2 separate regions of the Homo sapiens genome follow, and region 1 is linked to region 2. The links are contacts of gene promoters, found by promoter capture Hi-C in blood cells and fetal thymus (Javierre and others, 2016). All regions are on one chromosome and are shown on one strand. The core of a region is centred on a gene start or on the middle of the fragment in contact, and the rest is flanking DNA. Distances in the headings are between cores, read along the strand shown. Region 1 overlaps JPH1 (junctophilin 1). Region 2 holds the start of LY96 (lymphocyte antigen 96).

The links. Contacts are between HindIII fragments. The CHiCAGO score rates a contact against its expected background, and 5 or more counts as called.
Region 1: a contact is called between a fragment that was not itself captured here and the fragment with the promoter of LY96 in region 2, in 1 of 17 cell types (fetal thymus). The highest score is 5.1, in fetal thymus.

What each region holds. Positions count from the first base shown.
Region 1 is chr8:74,314,770-74,321,127 of GRCh38, forward strand. It overlaps JPH1 (junctophilin 1), which reads right to left. Exons shown (of 6, transcript NM_020647.4): 1 at 6,140-6,358; 2 at 92-851. Among named protein-coding and RNA genes, the nearest start is that of JPH1, 3.6 kb to the right of the region's middle. RefSeq lists an enhancer at 5,838-6,358. The HindIII fragment of the contact is 1,108 bases long and covers 1,572-2,679 here.
Region 2 is chr8:73,988,161-73,994,649 of GRCh38, forward strand. It overlaps LY96 (lymphocyte antigen 96), which reads left to right and starts at 3,232. Exons shown (of 5, transcript NM_015364.5): 1 at 3,232-3,394. The coding sequence starts at 3,283. RefSeq lists enhancers at 3,474-3,573, 3,944-4,013. The HindIII fragment of the contact is 3,298 bases long and covers 1-3,262 here.

The sequences.
Region 1 (6,358 bases), core at 876-3,375, 330 kb after region 2:
AGCGATGTCACTGGCAGATAGACAAACATAATATTTGATACTCCATTGTTCTGACCAACCCAGCAAAACCAACCACCCTGCATTTACTTACCTTGAATTTGCTATTTCCACTTTGGTTCTGGCCATGGCAGCTGCCCTTTGGGCGCCTTCAATTGCTCTGTCCACCTTCTCCCTAGTTTTTGTATGTCTTATTGGTATAAGCTGCTTCCTTATCCCACGGACCAGAATATTATTTTTGTATTTTCCCTCTTCTTTGGAGCCGTCAGGAAACACGGTACAGCCATATCCATGCCTCTTGTTATTTGCCCACTCCCCTTCATACTTCATGCCATTGGAGCGCTCGCTAACGCCGAAGCCGTTGCGCTTGTCGTTCTTCCACTCGCCCATGTAGGTTTCCGTGGTGGTGGCGTCCACGTGGTCTTCCACCGGGCAAAAATCACAATCTACATCGCCAAAGCTGATCGTGGAGTTGGCATCGCTGGAACTAATTCTGCTCATGGCCGCGTCGCTGCGGACAGAGCTGCGCTTGCTCGAGATGGAAGACTTGGATTCGGACTTGCGAAGTTTCATGCTTCCAAGAAGGGAGCCCCTCCGGAAGAGGCCGCCCTTCTTCTTGCCCGCTAGCTCAGCGTCTGCGTGGAAGTTGAGCACGAAACCGCCGCGGGTGCCGGCCGGGCTGTCGGCGGCGGCTGCGGCGTCGTGGAGCACGCTGCCATTGCTCTGCTCGCTGCGCAGCGAGGCCAGCGAGGTACGCAGCGGTGAGCGGATCACCGTGGCCATGCCGTAGGGCACGCTCTGGCGCACGCCGTAGCCATGCCGCATGCCTCCGGCCCACTGGCCCTGGTAGGTACCTTGGAGAGACCGCAAGAAAGCACCGTGAGTCGGGGGCAGAGCTGCACCGTCACCTGCACCATCCAGCGCACACTGGCGCAGGCCTGCCCAAGGTCAAATCTGACCCATTTCCAAGTCAACCCTGGGGGATACTTTGCATCCACTTGTGAATCCCCGCCCTGTAATTTTGGGTGTAAGGCTTTAATGTCATTGCACAGAATTTTCTAGTAGTCAGATAATTTTTGCTTTTCATTAAAATTTTATGCAAGTATTTCAGAGGAAAACCACTACTTTCTAATACAAAAAGTGAACACTGGGAAACAACATTCTCCTCTGAAATTAATGCATCAAAAATTCCTCTTGGGAAGAAGACAAGGAAACAGTAGAAGATGAAATGAATTCTATGTGTAAATTTTATTCTAATATTACTAATTTAGCTGGAAAACTGTAAAAAATGACTTTTAGGTCTATGTCAGTATAACATTCCAAGAAGTATACAGGCTTAAATCGGAATACTTGGGACACAGTCATCAAATGAACGTCTTAAATTTTCTGCTACATTCAGCATCTCTTTTTTTAGTGTAGACAAAACTGTTGAATATTCAGGATTATCATTTGAATTTGGGTGAACCTTTTTGAGCTAAGAGAGAATCGACAACCACAATATATATTATGAATACAGTGAATTATGAAAAAAATGAGTAATTTAACATTTTTGTGCTTCTAAGTGAAAAGGCCAAAGCTTTGTGCCGTATCATTTGCCAAATCTCTGCATCCTCTATGGATTTCCCTAGCTGCCACTGCATTGTGAATCACACCACAGACTAGAAGCACCCTGAGGGCAGGAATTACTTCGTATGAGAACACAAAATTCTCATGTGTCCTCTGGTCTGTGTTTGTGGATGGAGGGTGTTTGATGACTATGTTGACGGTAAAAAGCTATGGTGGCTAAAAAGTATACCCTTTACTCTTGGAGAAACTGATGTAAGGCCAGATGAAATCTTCTACTGTTACCATTTTGGACTTCATCTCAGAGGAAAGGTATATTTGACACTATCTATTAAAATGTTGATACCAGATGACTCTGTCAACAAATATTATGCTTTTTCATGATAGTCTGTCATCTAGAGCATTTGTAGTGAATTTTTTGCTACTAAATAAATAAGCAAAGACATTAAAAAATAACCTGGTACAGGTTTTAAAATAATCTTAGGAGGAAATGAATGTTAAATTAGGGAATTTAGAAGTTTCTTTTCAAAATCAATTTCCTTTAATTAAGGGTAAATTTTAATTTACAGTATCCCTCAAAAGAAGCTATCTGGAAAATTTAAAATGTAATTACTTCTGTGTTATTCATAACAATTCACAATGTCATAGAAAACAAATAATGATTAGTCTGTCTTGACCTCTTTCCATTTCTGATTATATAGATCTACCCTGCAGTCACTTTGCATTTTATATTTCCATGCACAGATTTCCATTGCATGGCACATATTCATTTTCAAAACACCGGGCAAAAATGCTAGTGGTTTTATATAACTGTGTTAACAATGGCTGGTTATTTCATTGCACTTAAAAGTTAAAACCATAATGACTCCCAAGTCAACGGTTTTGACCAATTTCAAGACTACCTTCTCTTTTTGTTCATTCTGGCATATGTGACACAGGCAATAGTAGATATACAATGAAATACTAAGTGGGTCTGGTACTGTAAATGTCATATTCTGGGTAGATGTGAAGTCTTAACTTGACATCTATGAACTTCTGAGGAGGTGGGTGGCCCACAGTTTTCTCTGAAAGATTAACTCAAGAGGATAAGATAGTCATGTAAAACATTTCAGGCTAAGAAGCTTCCTATTGAATACTGGCCATCTCCAAATACCGCCATCTTAACAGGAATGGGAATGGAATTATTAGGAAATTTTGACTTTGACTTTTCCTTTGCCTATACAGGTAAAATTTAAATTCTAGGATGAAAGTTTCACAATCTGGCTTGAAGATACTAAAATAAACCACCTTATTTTTAATATTTTGTTGGTTAAAAGAATGCTATAATCACATCCTCCTAACTTTTGTCTATAGTGACAAGTTAATTTTGCTAGAACAATTTGCAGAGATGCTGTTTGATATCAATAAGTATCTGCACTTTTAAAACACAGCCATACCATCTTGGTAAATGTTTAACACTGATGGAAAATTAACAGCTAGTTTCTTTAAACTGTTATCTCCAAAAATAAGACTAGTACAGTATTTAGAATTTCCAAAAAAGTATGGCTTGAAAATCCAAGCTGTTTAAGGCAACAGCAATAATTAGAAAGTTTAAGTCTCTGCTTAACTGTCAAATAGGGAAGGGGGGGACAAGAGCATTGGCCACATTCCTCTCCTATTTTGTTAAATCACAGTATATGAAAGAATTCCTCCACAGAATTGCTAGAAACCAATTTGCAGTCAAACTGTTAGCAGTTCATCTGAAATTTAAAATAGGTTTAGTTTAGTCAATGAACCTAGAATAAGAAAGGGCCTATTTCTTTATGAAGCAGGTGGGTTCCAACTTCTCCCTGCTGCTCAAATAAAGTTCTAATTAGTTCCTCTTGATTCCTAAAATGTAGATGCATATTTCACAAGTATAAAAATTACTTTTACCAGTTTTAAACTGTGTTCATTTGGGAGCTAATTTTTTAGATTTAGTCATTTTAACTACACAATCTTGTAGTGGAAGGCATCCAGTTTAGGAGTTTCAGTCAAATTTGCACTGCACTATGCCAAACTTCAGTTTATATGCTCCGAATGGGTATGTGCAAGTATGCATCTAGTTAACAAAACGTTGTGTTTTCCCAGATATTTTCAATAGTTTTATGACAAGTGAAAAAACAAAGTACAGATCAGAATTAGCACAAAAAATTCTGGGCACCTAGACTTGGATTTCATGAGTATGATACTAACTTATTGTTAATATTCAGGGGGTTTCTATTTCAGCAACATGTAATACACAAATCACTAATAAAATAAGTGATACGTCTCACATGGAATTACTGCTTCCTTCCTCCTCCAGTTTAATGTCACCACAAAAAAACTCGGAATCAGATTTTCCCTGAATCTGATACAGGGTGTACAGGGATGGACATGTGGCGATGGGGAGAGTGCAAACAAAAACAAGCTAACTCCTTAGTGAGAACAGCAGAAAACAAGCTAATTTTTTAGTGATATTCCTATTTTGGCCAAAACCTTTGTATGAAATAAGTTACAGCAATAAACTTGCTTTAGACTCCCTTTTTATGATTGAGAACTTTCTAATGAAATAGTTACATATGAGACAGTAGAAAATCTATTAGCATAGAGTAGACATTCAGTAGTGATTTTTAAGGTTTTTCTTCCTAACTGTAGCATATTAGATTTTTTTTTTTGGTAGAAGAAGAAAACCACAGTACCACCCAGGATGATGCCAAGTTTTAAGTTTTTTTTTAAGTTTATTTTAAAACTGAAGGCAGATTATTCATAAAATCATTCTGGAGACTTATTTGGGTTTCTACGACATGTACACAGACAGCCTCTACTGTGCTATATATATTTTGATTACTAGGTATAATGAATACTCTAAACCAAGAGAGTGTGTTTAATGAATAGTATCTTTAAAAGGAGACGATTTTTAACCTTCCAAAACTGAAGAGAACCATCCCTGGCCTTCTTAAAAGATTATAAAATAATGCACACATTTAAAACAATAAATTTTGCCTTCTACTTTTGAGCATGGAATTTAGTTATATAGTAGAGCTGGGGCCTCCAACAAAATCCAGTCACAAACTGACATATTTACAGCGCTGTCAACCAGGTACTTTATGCCCATTCAGAACATTTAAGGGTCCCAATTAACTACTGTGAAACTCGGGACTCAGCCCCACATAAAACTATTAGAGAACGTTTTTTTCTTTTAATCCATGAGAACCATATGCTTAATTTATACTGTAGGATGAAAAGATGTCCTTTTTAGCAAGTTCTACCATTCTGCCATTTTGCATTTGAAACACGGCCCAAGTGTTCTGACTAAGTGAAGTGTACAAATTGTGTAAGCTTTTATATAAGCAATGGTATAAATGGGGTTGCAGTGGGCTGGAGAAACTTTTAATTGCATCCCTTTAATATCCTCCAACTCTGAGCTGCTTAATTCCAAAAAGTGATGTCGCCTCCTACAACCCTTTTCAACTAAATATGATTATGTTTATCAGGAAATGCACTTTGCTAAAGCATAAGCTATTCATGAATATCTTTCTCAGCGTATTACACAAGGAAATTCATCAGGTTTTGACACCTGTTTCAATAATGTATACTTTTCCTAATAAAAGAGGAACTTCTGTCCTGGTATATACACAATCTCTTTGGCAAATATTGTTAAATATTAAAATAAGGTGATCTTTGTTCACAGCCAGGAATACTGGCTTAGGTCACACATAATGCAAATTATTGTTTCAGTATTGCCATTCTCAGGAGTAGTAGCTGCTAACTTAGCAGCTATAGGAACACACCTGCTAATTGTATTCTTTAAAATGTAGACTTCATTACCCATTTCTAAAATATCTTCCTAGTAATTTGTCCAAGATCTCCAGGTCAGCAAAGACTGCTACTCTTTTAAGACCAATACTTTAAGAAACGGAATGAAAACTAGGAACTCACACACTCTGAACTCCACCTGCATCAGGTGGCCTTTCTGCTCCCATAACTAGGACGTTTCCAAATGCACCCCCAAATAAGGTACAATTCCCCAACATCCTAGTTACGGGGTTCTGGCTTCTATCTTTAGGCTACTGGAGGACCAGAAGCGAAATACGACTCCACGTGAAACCAATCCCGGGAGCGGTCAGCACGGACCGCCAACCTCACCCGCTCAGGGTGTTCGCTCTAACTCCACGGGAGTGGCGATTTCAAACCCGGCCGGGAGAGGGAGGGATCAGGAACGTAATGTGACGGGCTCAAGTGACAGCGTCCTCTCTCCAGCCCAACCCTCCCGGGCGGCGCTCCCTCCCGGTGGCAGCGCAGCGCTGGCGCCGGCCAGGTACATTCACGCCTAGCTCCCCTGAGTGTGGATACACGGCCCGCTCCAAGAACGGGGTCAGATCCAGCCCTCGCGCCCCAGTCCGGTCCCAGCGCCCTCTCTGGGAAAGGCGGGCGCGGGCGCGGGGGTGGGAGGCGCCCCCAGGTGTTTTGGCGGGTTTCCGGACACGTGCGCCCGGCGTCCTCCCCGCTTCCCCGCAGCCGGGGCAGAGCCCACCGCACCAGCTCGCGGAGCAGCCGAGCCGCCCGTTACGCCGCTCACCTCCGTCCCCGTAGGTCTCCACGCCGTACCCGTCTTGCAGCCCGTTACTCCAGGTACCCTCGTAGCGAGCGGGGGTGCACAGGCTCTGCCGGACCCCGTAGCGCCCCTTGAAACCATGTGACCACTCCCCCCGGTACATCCACTTGCCCTTCGTCTCCACCCCCAGCCCGTGCCGCTTGCCCTGCGCCCAGTAGCCCTGGTAGGTGTTGCCGCTGGGCC
Region 2 (6,489 bases), core at 1,982-4,481:
AAAAAAGAAGAAGGTGATGGGATGATGGAAGCAGAGATTGCAGAGACTGAAGCGATGCATTTTGAAGATGGAGAAATACAAGGATTGTAGCTCTAAAAGCTGAAAAAAGCAGGGAGACAGATTCTTCCCCTTAGTCTCCAGAAGGAACCACCTCTGTTGACACCTTGACTTTAGTACAGTGAAACTGATTTCAGACTTCAGACCGCCAGAACTGTAAGAGAATATATTTACAGTTTTTTGTTTGTTTTTTGAGATGGAGTCCTGCTGTGTCTTCCAGACTGGAGTGTGGTGGTGCAATCTCTCGGTTCACTACAACCTCTGCCTCCTGGGTTCAAGCAATTCTCCTGCGTCAGCCTCCCGAGTAGCTGGGATTATAGATGCCCACCACCATGCTTGGCTCATTTCTTGTATTTTTAGTAGAGATGGGGTTTCACCATGTTGGCCAGGTTGGTCTTGAACTCCTGACCTCAGGTGATCTGCCCGCTTTGGCCTCCCAAAGTGCTGGGATTACAGGCATGAGCCACTGTGCCCAGCCTATGTTGTTTTAAGCCACAAAATCTTTTGGCAATTTGTTACAGCCATTATAGGAAACTAGAAACACCTATCTTTGCTCAGTGGAACCGTCTTCAAATTGGTTATCTAATATAACAAAGTGTTTTAGGCTCATTTTGTACATTTTCTACCCCAGACTCCAAGGAGTCCTGGTTGCTTATAGTGGGAAATGGTATTTTGAGACCACTAAGGGTGTTCATGGGTGGTTGTCTTTTTTTTTTCCATCTTTTAAATTTATTTTAAAATTGTGTTTTTTAAAGAATTTACCATCTTACCCAGTTTTAAGCATAGAGTTCAGTGGTGTTAACTATATTCACCTTGTTGTGCAACAGATCTCTAGAACTCTTTCATCTTGTCAGCTTGAGACTCTATGCCCATTGAACAACTCCCCATTTCCCCCTCCTCCCTTGGACTTTTGCCTTTTTGAAAATGGCAGGGCCAAGAGCCACGGCTCAAACCTGTGGTCCCAGCTGAGCCCAGGAATTTGAGGCTGCAGTGTGTTATAATCACACCTAAGAATAGCCATTGCACCCCAGCATGGGCAACACAGTGAGACTTTATCTCTAAAAAAATGGAAAAAATCACACTTCTGTTGTAAAATATTTTTACCAACGTATGATTATTTTCTTCTTAAGTGTGCAGATTTTTAGGCCAAAACTCCATGCCATTTTTGGCTGCTAACCCTAAGCTATATCCTGTAAAGGATTTCAAGTAGCAAGATATCTAAAGGAATAGCTGTCTTTCTAAAATGGAGTGAGAGTTTTGAAATGAAATACATGTCATAACAAAAGGATGACATTTCATTATTAGGACTCAAAATGTTCTCTTGAGCTCTAGCTTGTTGTAGGTGAATACATTATTAAGACTGGTGGAGTCCCTGCCCACAGCACAGAATTACAGCTAGTGTCCCCTGTTTGGGGTCTTATCTGGCCCTGTTCTGTCCTGTAACTAAACCTGCTGCTGAAAAGAAATAGTTTCCATGAGACTGTTTACTTCAGATCTATAGGTGCAGCTCTCTGGGCCATGATAATTTGATTTGTTGTTGTTATTGTTGTTTTTTGAGATGGAGTCTCGCTCTGTCTCCCAGGCTGGAGTGCAGTGACATAATCTTGGCTCACTGCAAACTCCACCTCCTCGGTTCAAGCAATTCTCTTGCCTCAGCCTCCTGAGTAGCTGGGACTACAGGCACTTGCCACCATGCCTAGCTAATTTTTGTATTTTTAGTAGAGACAGGGTTTCACTATGTCGGTCAAGCTGGTTTCAAACTCCTGACCTCAGGTGATCCGCCCACCTTGACCTCCCAAAGTGCTGGGATTTACAGAGGTGAGCCACTGCGCCTGGCCTGTTTGTTTGTTTTTGAGACCGAGTCTCACTCTGTTGCCCAGGCTGGAGTGTAGTGGCCCAATCTTGGCTCACTGCAACCTCTGCCTCCTGGGTTCAAGCGATTCTCCTGCCTCAGCCTCCCGAGTAGCTGGGATTACAGGTGTGTGCCACCATGCCTGGCTAATTTTTATATTTTTAGTAGAGACGGAATTTCACCATGTTGGCCAGGCTGGTCTTGAACTCCTGACCTCAAGTGATCCACCCACCTTGGTATCCCAAAATGCTGGGATGACAGGCATGAGCCACCGTGCCCAGCTGAGAATTTGTTTTATAAAGCAGGAGGCCCCATCCTCTGGGGGCCGTGGACCAGTACCAGTCCATGGCCTGTTAGGAATCTGGTTGTGGCTTGTTAGGAAGTGGGCTGCACAGCTGGAGGTTAACAGCAGGTGAGCGAGCATTACCACCTGAGCTCCAGCTCCTGTCAGACCAGCAGCAGCATTAGATTCCCATGGGAGCAGGAACCTTGTTATGAAGTATACAAGCGAGGGATCTAGGTTGCGTGCTCCCTATAAGAATCTAATGCCTGATGTTCTGAGGTGGAACAGTTTCACCCTGAAACCATCCCTCCCCATCCCCTCAGTCCGTGGAAAAATTGTCTTCCATGAAACTGATCCCTGAGGCCAAAAATGTTGGGGACTGCTGTTATACAGAGCTGTAGGAGAGAAGAATAATGCAGAGGGAAAAGGAGTGCCTGTCTGTTGAGACTTTCAGGGGGACCTAGGGACTGGTTTTGTTACAGTTGACTGGGAATTGTCTTGTTTATTTTATTTTATTTTTCATTTAAAAAATTTTTTTGAAATGGAGTCTTGCTCTGTTGCCCAGGCTGGAGAGCAGTGGTGCCATCTTGGCTCACTGCAACCTCTGCCTCCCAGATAAAGTGAAGCTCCTGCCTCAGCCTCCTGAATAGCTGGGATTACAGGCATGCACTACCACACCTGGCTAATTTTTGTATTTTTAGTAGAGATGTGTTTCATCATGTCAGCCAGGCTGGTCTTGAACTCCTGACCTCAAGTGATCCACCTGCCTCAGCCTCCCAAAATACTGAGATTACAGGCATGAGCCACCGTGCCTGGCCAAAGTGTCTTGTTTTATTTTTAAGTCTTTGATCACTCTCATTTACAGTAAGTGTTTGAAGAGTACATTCTAAATCATTTTTCTCTCTTCCTTTACAGGAAGTGCTCAAATGTTGAGCACACACACACAAAAAAAGAGGAAACAGTTGGATAGGAACTCAGAAATCATGTGACTGATGACTAAGTTAAATCTTTTCTGCTTACTGAAAAGGAAGAGTCTGATGATTAGTTACTGATCCTCTTTGCATTTGTAAAGCTTTGGAGATATTGAATCATGTTACCATTTCTGTTTTTTTCCACCCTGTTTTCTTCCATATTTACTGAAGCTCAGAAGCAGTATTGGGTCTGCAACTCATCCGATGCAAGTATTTCATACACCTACTGTGGTAAGTAAAACCGCAAAACAAATAATTGTAGCATCAACTATTTTGAGGGTAAGTTTTCACGAGAACCGTACACTGTTGTGGCTGGAACACACGAAACATCAGTGTGTTCCAGCTGCTGTGGCGGACGCTGCCAGCAGGAAAAGCAATAGCTGGCAGCTGCCCCATGAGAATGTTCTCGACCACTCACAGAGCTTGTGAGTCTCTAAACTGTGTTGTGCTTGACCTCCAAGTGCTTCTGTTCCCTGCGTCATCTTTCTCTACCCTGAGCCCAGTTTTTGGTTCTGCCCATTTTTAATAAAACCATCTGCTTCTGAGCTTTCACCTCAGCCTTGACACTTACTAGTTCTTCTTCTTGAGATGGTAGAGCAGTCCCAGCTGCTTCCTGGAGTTGATTTCTGCTCTAAGCTGTGACTCTTGAGTGCTCTTGGAATCATCCCCCTCACTGGATGAAAGCCTGGTTCTGTCACTAGCTGTGTGACCTTAAGCAAAGTACTCCAGCCTTTTTAGCACTGAAGTGAAAGTGATTTTATAGTCTACTTGATAAGGGTGTTGTGAGGTGAAGTTTTTTAGCATAGGGTCACATAGAGACAATAATACTCTTAATTTTTTTTTGGAGTCAGCCATACCCTAATACTATTCACTGGCTGTGTCACTGTCCCCTGCCCCAGCTGCTCATTAGCAAGTGTCCTGGGATCTGAAGGCACAGTGTCAGGCCTGACAGCTGTTTTGGTTCGGTACTTTCCACCGTGCTGCTTACCATGGGTTGGCTGCCCTTTTCCACCCACTAGCAATAGCTGGGAGGTTTAAAGTGGTGCTTCCCAAAATACCAGTTCTTTGAGATTCTTTTGGGAAAATAGGATCTATGACCTAATCATCTGGGAGAGATTTACAGATGTACTTTGGGTTCTGAGAAGTTCTGCAATAAAGGCACCTGTTTAACCACATTTTCAATTTCATTTGTTGTTTGTTTGTTTGTGTTTTAGTCTGGAGTGTATGTTAACTCTCTTGAGAAACATGCTCTGCCAAATGCTAATATAAAGTGACTTTCGGGAAATTGGGATAATTGCCACATGTGAGGAGGAGACTTAGGAGTGTGGCCAGTCACACACCATGGCCCTTCTCCTGGTGGGTTGCACTGAATTCCCTCCAAACGTATGTCTAAAATCTCTCCATGCTGCAAGATCCTTTTGCATTCCCCTCTTCCAGCAAGGCTCCTACTCTACTTGGCCCCCACTTCCCTCTCCTCCTTTGGCTCTTTTGTACCATGTGCTAATTATGCCACTGTGTGTGTGTGTGTGTGTGTGTGTGTGTGTGTGTGTGTGACAGAGTTTTGCTCTGTTGCCAGGCTGGAGTGCAGTGGCGCGATTTCGGCTCACTGCAACCTCTGCCTCCCAAGTTCAAACGATTCCCATGCCTCAGCCTCCTGAGTAGCTGGGACTACAGGTGTGCGCCACCACACCCGGCTAATTTTTTTTTTTTTTGTATTTTAGTAGAGACAGGGTTTCATCATGTTGACCAGGATGGTCTCAATGTCCTGATCTTGTGATCTGCCCACCCCGGCCTCCCAAAGTGCTGGGATTACAGGCGTGTGCCACCTTGCCCGGTTTATGCCACTCTTTATATGGTTTTTATGGATGTAACATTTTGTATTATTATTTAGCTTTCAATCTTTTCTTAACAATAACTCAATTTGTCTTTTTAAAACATTTCACATTTTATCTTATTTTATCATTTATTTTTGAGACAGGGTTTTGCTCTGTTGTGCAGGCTGGAGTGAGTGGCATGATCTCCACTCACTGCAACCTCCACCTCCCTGGCTCAAGCCATCCTCCCAGCTCAGCCTTCCAAGTAGCTGGGACTACAGGCACATGCCACCACACTTGTCTAATTATTAATTAAATAATTTTTTTTGAGTTTCACTCTTGTTGCCCAGGCTGGAGTGCAATGGCATGATCTTGGCTCACTGCAACGACCGCCTCCTGGGTTCAAGTGATTCTCCTGCCTCAGCCTCCCGAGTAGCTGGGATTATAGGTGCCCACCACCACACCCAGCTAATTTTTGTATTTTTAGTAGAGACAGGGTTTTGCCATGTTGACCAGGCTGGCCTCCAACTCCTGACCTCAGGTGATCCGCCCACCTTGGCCTCCCAAAGTGTTGGGATTACAGGCGTGAGCCACCGCAGCTGGCCTAATTATTAATTTTTTTGTAGAGATGGAGTCTTGCTATATTGCCCAGGCTGGTCTGGAACTCCTGGGCTCAAGTGATTCTCCCACCTTGGCCTCCCAAAGTGCTGGGATTACAGATATGAGCCACTGCACCTGGCCTAAAATTTCACATTTTAATCATTTTTGAGTGTTTAGCTCAATTGTATTAAGTATATGCACATTGCTGTGAAACCATCACCGTTGGTGTATCTTTTGATTTGACTTTCTAGTTTTTTTTTTTACTTTGAGACAGTCTCATTCTGTCATCTAGGCTGGAGTGCAGTAGTACGATCTCAGCTCACTGCAACCTCTGCCTCCTGGGTTCAAGCGATTCTTTTGCCTCAGCCTCCTAAATAGCTGAGATTACAGATATGCACCACCATGCCTGGCTAATTTGATTTGACTTTATGAAGGAGGATCTTCCTTCCTTCTCTCTGAGAAACCCTGTGGTCCTTTCCTGCTGCCCCACTGACAAAGGGACTGTGGGCAAGCCACTGGAATACACATCTACAGCAAGATGTTGCTTGTTGCCATCCCCACTGCCATATGACTGCCTTCCCGGCCTGAGAGAATCCATCCTGCCCAGCCAAAAATGCATCACCTGTGGGAAGCACTGATTCCTCTAGGTACCATTGTGAGGGTGTTGGTGACAACAACCTCTGATTCACTGTGATGATTTCCATGAAAAAGAAGAGATAGATTTCCATTTGGTCAAGCTGCTGGGCATCTAAGTGTATGTTTTTTTAAACACAGAGTCTTGCTCTGTCAGCCAGGCTGGAGTGCAACGGTGGAATCATGGCTCACTGCAGCCTCAAACTCTGAGGTTCAAGTGATTTTCCCGCTTCAGCCTCCCAAGTAGCTGGGACTACAGGCGTGCACCACCATGTCTGG